Regions from separate parts of the Homo sapiens genome. Here region 1 is linked to region 2. Evidence: promoter capture Hi-C in 16 types of primary human blood cells and fetal thymus (Javierre and others, 2016). All regions are on one chromosome and are shown on one strand. Each heading gives the region's core, a stretch centred on a gene start or on the middle of the fragment in contact. The rest is flanking DNA. Distances are from core to core; before and after follow the strand shown. Region 1 overlaps RGS14 (regulator of G protein signaling 14). Region 2 holds the start of DDX41 (DEAD-box helicase 41).

What was found. Contacts are between HindIII fragments. The CHiCAGO score rates a contact against its expected background, and 5 or more counts as called.
Region 1: a fragment that was not itself captured here is called in contact with the fragment with the promoter of DDX41 in region 2 in 4 of 17 cell types (activated CD4 T cells, naive CD4 T cells, total CD8 T cells and 1 more); the score reaches 7.7 in activated CD4 T cells.

What each region holds. Positions count from the first base shown.
Region 1 is chr5:177,371,534-177,374,233 of GRCh38, forward strand. It overlaps RGS14 (regulator of G protein signaling 14), which reads left to right. Exons shown (of 15, transcript NM_006480.5): 14 at 1-56; 15 at 340-1,063. The coding sequence ends at 542. Among named protein-coding and RNA genes, the nearest start is that of SLC34A1, 12 kb to the right of the region's middle. RefSeq lists an enhancer at 2,169-2,669. The HindIII fragment of the contact is 1,028 bases long and covers 865-1,892 here.
Region 2 is chr5:177,515,684-177,518,383 of GRCh38, forward strand. DDX41 (DEAD-box helicase 41) reads right to left here and starts at 1,278. Exons shown (of 17, transcript NM_016222.4): 1 at 1,236-1,278; 2 at 1,042-1,152; 3 at 605-764; 4 at 436-510; 5 at 246-306; 6 at 2-138. The coding sequence starts at 1,262. RefSeq lists enhancers at 520-1,344, 1,373-1,642. The HindIII fragment of the contact is 2,611 bases long and covers 1-2,418 here.

The DNA.
Region 1 (2,700 bases), core at 129-2,628, 140 kb before region 2:
TCTGGTGAAGGTGCCCAGTAGTGCCACTGGAAAGCGGCAGACCTGTGACATCGAAGGTACATGGTGGATGAGCTGGGGATCAGAAAGACTAGGGCAGTGGGGTTGGGGACCATTCAGGGTGGCATCAGAGAGCCTTGAGCTAAGGCAGGGGGCTGGGTGCCACTGGGCGTGGAACAGGAAGGATGGGGGTTGGGGGGTCAAAGGGGCTGGAACAGGGGGCCGCAGGCCATTGGTGCTGGGGCCAGGGAGGCAGTGGCCACAGTAAGGCAGTGGGACTATCGTGGGCTGGCATATAGGCAGGTCTGCTGGGGGGACCCTCATGCTGTGGCTTGCCTCCAGGCCTGGTGGAGCTGCTGAACCGGGTGCAGAGCAGCGGGGCCCACGACCAGAGGGGCCTTCTGAGGAAAGAGGACCTGGTACTTCCAGAATTTCTGCAGCTGCCCGCCCAAGGGCCCAGCTCCGAGGAGACCCCACCACAGACCAAATCAGCAGCCCAGCCCATCGGGGGATCCTTGAACTCCACCACCGACTCAGCCCTCTGACAGCTACCCAACAGTCCAGGACAGCTGCATGGCACCCGGCGGGCCGAGCATGCCATGGGTCCGCTCTGCATGCCCTGTCTGTGCCATGAGTGTCCCTGGCCCCTTCCTGCCATGGGCAGGCCCGCAGGAAGAGCCGGTAGGGGTGGAAAGGGGACTCAGATGAGACACACCCCACAGCTGCCACCGCCTTGTCCCTCAACAAGCTCACCCCCAATCCCTTGCAGCCAGGCCACAATGGGGGAGGTGAGTCCAGCCCCTTGGAACAGGCTTGCCCAACATGGAGGGATGGCGTTGGCAGTGCCAGCCTCCCCAGCCTGTGCCAAGCTTCAACAGGGGCAAGAGGAGGGGCCGGCCCCTCCTCAGGAAGCTGGTATGAGTAAGGCCTTGAGGGTGCAGGCAGGCAGCCCTGTACCCCACCCACATAGACTATACTGTACATACAGATTTTGCAGTAGGCTTGGGGCAGCTGGGTTTGTCCTTGATGTATGATACTGTTATTATAATAATTATTATTATTCTGCCATGAGTTGTCTTCCTTGTGTGCCAGACTGTCCTGTGGCTTCCCCCACCCTCAAAACACACTACTTCTGTCACCAAGGTCAGTGCCAGGAAACTCTTGGGGACCTCAGGATGTGCCTCCTGACTTCCTGTTTTCAGAACCTCTCTTCCTGACTGCACAGTATATGGGGTGGTGTGTGAATATCTTATAGTATTTTTTTTTTTAAGAATATGGGAGCTGGGTGAGGTGGCTCACACCTGTAATCCCAGCACTTTGGGAGACCAAGGGGGGTGGGGGTGGATCGCTTGAGCTCAGGAGTTTGAGACCAGTCTGGGCAACATGTCAAAACTCTGTCTCTACCAAAAATACAAAAAATTACCTGGGTGTGGTGGTGCATGCCTGTGGTCCCAGCTACTTGGGAGACAGGTGGAAGAGGATCACTTGAGCCCGGAAGGCGAAGGTTGCAGTGAGCCGAGATCGTGCCACCGCACTCCAGCCTGGATGACAGAGTGAGACCTGTCATGGTGTGGAGGTGAGAGAGAGGGCGGGGAGAGGTGTGGGGGTGAAGAACCCTGTGGGGAGCTGTGCCTCTCCATCATGTTGCTGTTGTACTGTGGTCTCTGTGGATCTGAGTACATCATTCTGGTCCTGTTCTCTGCTTCTACTGGGGACTGAGTGTCTCTGCACACATAACTGGAGAATCCTTTGAGGGCACCAAAGGTCTATAAGGGGGACACTGATTGTTGTAGCAGGGGCAGGTTCTCTCTCTTTTTTTTTTTTGAGACGGAGTCTCCCTCTGTCGCCCAGGCTAGAGTGCAGTGGCGCGATCTTGGCCATCTTGGCTCACTGCAAGCTTCGCCTCCAGGGTTCACGCCATTCTCCTGCCTCAGCCTCCTGAGTAGCTGGGACTACAGGCCCCCGCCACCGTGCCCAGCTAATTTTTTGTATTTTTAGTAGAGACGGGGTTTCACCGTGTTAGCCAGGATGGTCTCGATCTCCTGACCTTGTGAGCCGCCTGCCTCGGTCTCCTAAAGTGTTGGGATTACAGGCGTGAGCCACCGCACCTGGCCCCTCAGGGGCAGGTTCTCACTCTTACCTGCTTTAGCTGGGTGGTCTAGCTGGAAGTCCAAACCCCTCACTGTGGGAGGCAAGGAGGACCTCCCAGAAGGAGGGCCCCAGACTGCGGGGAGAGAAGCCAGACTGGGTTCCAGCCCAGAGAGGTAAGTGCTGCAACAGGAAGCTAGGGGGTGTAGGGGCCAGGAGAAGGCACCTGAGAGAGTGAGGGGTGTCTCCTGACTGCCTCAAACAGGTCACGTTGCCTTCCCCATTGGAATCTTTGCACTCGCTGTCTCCTCTGCCAGGAACTCCCCTTACCTGCCCCGTGCGCAGTCAACTGGCTCCTCCTCCTCCTGGAAATCTGTGGGGTTTGCCAGCCACCCTGTCCCACTATGGGAGCTTCACACCTCTGCCCCCTCAGCCCATTTTGTTTGGCTGGCATAACCGGATCCCTGGCAAGCCTGGCTGATCAGAATACTCCATTCCACTGGCCAATCAGCGTACTCCATTCCACTAGCCAATCAGAGTAGTACCTTTCCCTGGCCAGAATTTGGTTCAGACATAGTCCTCTGACCTCAGGTGTTCCAATCAGAGTCCCAGTCC
Region 2 (2,700 bases), core at 28-2,527:
CCTGCAGGAAACTTCATTTCCTTGAAGCTCTTGATGGGTGGTGGGATACCGTCTCCCTCCACCAGGATGTGGTATTTCTTCCGCACGCGCTCATGTCGCTCTTCAGACATGCTCAGAACATAACGGGGTGGAGTCCAGCTGTGGATGGGTAACAGGGATCAAGAGAGCCCTGGGAATAGCTGGCCTGGGAGCATCCCTGCATGTACCATCCTAAGCAAGGGCAACTGCAGACTGTACAGACATACCTGGTTTTGATGGGGTCATCATACGTAATGCCCTTAGCCATCTCCTTCACTGACATCAATGCTGAAGAGAGAGACATGGCTCAGGGCTGGCTCCTGCTTCTGAGAAGCCAGATCCCTTGAGATATAACATGCCTGGGGCTGGGAGGAGAAGACTCAGTCCACCTTCTCACTATCCTGGCTACAACCATACCTCGGCCCTCGGCAACACTCTCCAGGATCTTCTCTTCTTCCTTCAGCTGCTTCTCCTTGGCAGACTCTTTGCGCGCTGAGAAAAGAAGTGGAAGATGTCAGACAGATACCAAAACGGTGTACCAGGCTCAGCTTCTTCTTTCTCGCCCAGGCAGTGCTGCCCAGCCCACCTTCAGCCTTCTCTTTAAGGTGCTGGTGCTGATCCAGGAGGCTGACGTTGGACTGAGGGCCTAGCGGGATGTCGTCCTCATCTCCCCGGGGTTCACTACCGCTGTCCTGCTGCTCTTCCTCCGCAGCTCCCTTGCGTCTTCGCTGCAGCAGCTTCTGGAGCTGAGGTTCCACCCGGGATCCACAGATAGGATGGGCATGGAGTCCACAAGGTCAGCGTCAGGATCCTGGCTTTGGGGCGAGGATCCTGTGCCCGAGGCGCAAAGCTGCCCTACCCCTCAGATCAAGCCGTCGGTCCCTCGTTTGTCTGGGGGCCGCGCCCTGGTGTACTGAAGCTCACTCCTCAGACTGCCCTCCTCCCCACGGAGGCCGAGGCCACGCCCGCCCCCTGCGACCCCGCGGTCACGGCCCCATCCCTCCCCGGACGCGTGCCCCTCACCAGTAGCTGCCGGCGCTGCCGTAACGGCACATAGGGCACGTAGTCCTCGTCGTCCTCATCTTCCGCCTCGGAGCGGCTTCCTCCGGCAGGCACCTCGTCGGTGCGAGCCCGCTGCAAGCACACGCCAGTCAGGCACGGCCTGCTCCCCTCTTCACGCCCGCTCCCACACGCGCGGGGTCTCGCCTCTCTCCTACCTTCCGTTCGGGTTCCGACTCCTCCATTCTTTGCTGCACGCATGCGCGCCACGGCGAAACCCCGCCTCATCCTTGCGTGAGACCCAATCCGATGTGAAGAGGCGAACGACGGCGCGTAGGAACGACCTCGGAGTTCCGGATCGCGCAGAGGGACAAATTTGTTCCGGAGATACTATCGCACGGCGAGGCATGGACGCTTTCATGGGTGGTTACGCGACAGTTGCCAGGACCGAGGGCGAAACCGGCTGCAAGGCATTGTGGGACATTGGAGGACTTGGAATATGCGCTAGAAGGCTCAATCCAAGCCCATTGGAAGAGGAAGACGTACGCAGCGGAGACAGCTGATCCGGAGTCGGGGCGGCCTGCCAGGTGCCCAACCTCTCCCAGAGCATGGCGTCTTGGGCACGCCCCTGCCGGCGGACAGTGCGTCCTCTAGGGCCGGGAGCTGCGGGCCGAGTTCGCGTGGGCCCTGCGCTTTCATCCCTGCCGGGGACGCCGGGGTTGCGGGATAAACCGCTCGACACACCCTGCCTCCCTGACTGCGCCTGTGTGACACATACGTTCACTGGTGGGGCACGCATCAGATACGGATGGCAGTGGTTTTGAAGTGGGAGGCCCTGTATAAATGTAAACGGTTATTACTGTAAATGCTCTAACAGAGCTGCCTGGGGGGCGCTTCCAGGGAAGCGTGGCAATCTCAGGCCGGGAGAGGAGAGGCGTCCTGGGCCAGGGCGCTGCAGGAATACAGGTCTGGCGATGTGCAAGTACACAGATTCACCAGGCAACAGCATTGCGGCAAGGGTGGGATGGGGAAGCCAGACCTAAGGCCAGAAAAGGAGATTGCGACCAGAGCATGCCTGCTGTGACTGTCAGAGTAAGTGGTTTCAACTTTATTAGAGACTTCTAAGGAATGACTTGGTCAGCTCTGTGCTTTCTTGCCTTCAAGAGTGTGTGCTGGGCGCTGGCACTGCGCTCAAGCAGATGATAATCAAGACACATACCTGGTGTGCGAGGAGCTTATGTAGATTGAGACTAGAAATATAGACAGATAACTGGTCTTAAAGAGAAAGATCCTAAGACAAGGTACCGCTTTTCGAAGTGTCATAGTTTTCACAGTACAATGGCCTCTTAGCTGGGATGTGAAGGATACACAGGAATTCATGAAGTCTTCTTTAGTAAAGAAAGCTTAGGCTGGGCACAGTGGCTCATTCCTGTAATCCCAGCTCTCTGGGAGGCCAAGGCAGGAGGATCGCTTGAAGCCAGGAGTTCAAGACCAGCTTGGACAACATAGCAAGACCCCATCTCTATAAAAAAAATAAGCTGGTGCTTACTGCCAGTCCCATGGTGGGTCTCAACCTGGGAGGGATGGAGGAGGACATGGTTTCTGGTCCTGCTCACAACACCCAAATACATGGCAATCTCAGGCCGGGAGAGGAGAGGCGTCCTGGGCCAGGGCGCTGCAGGA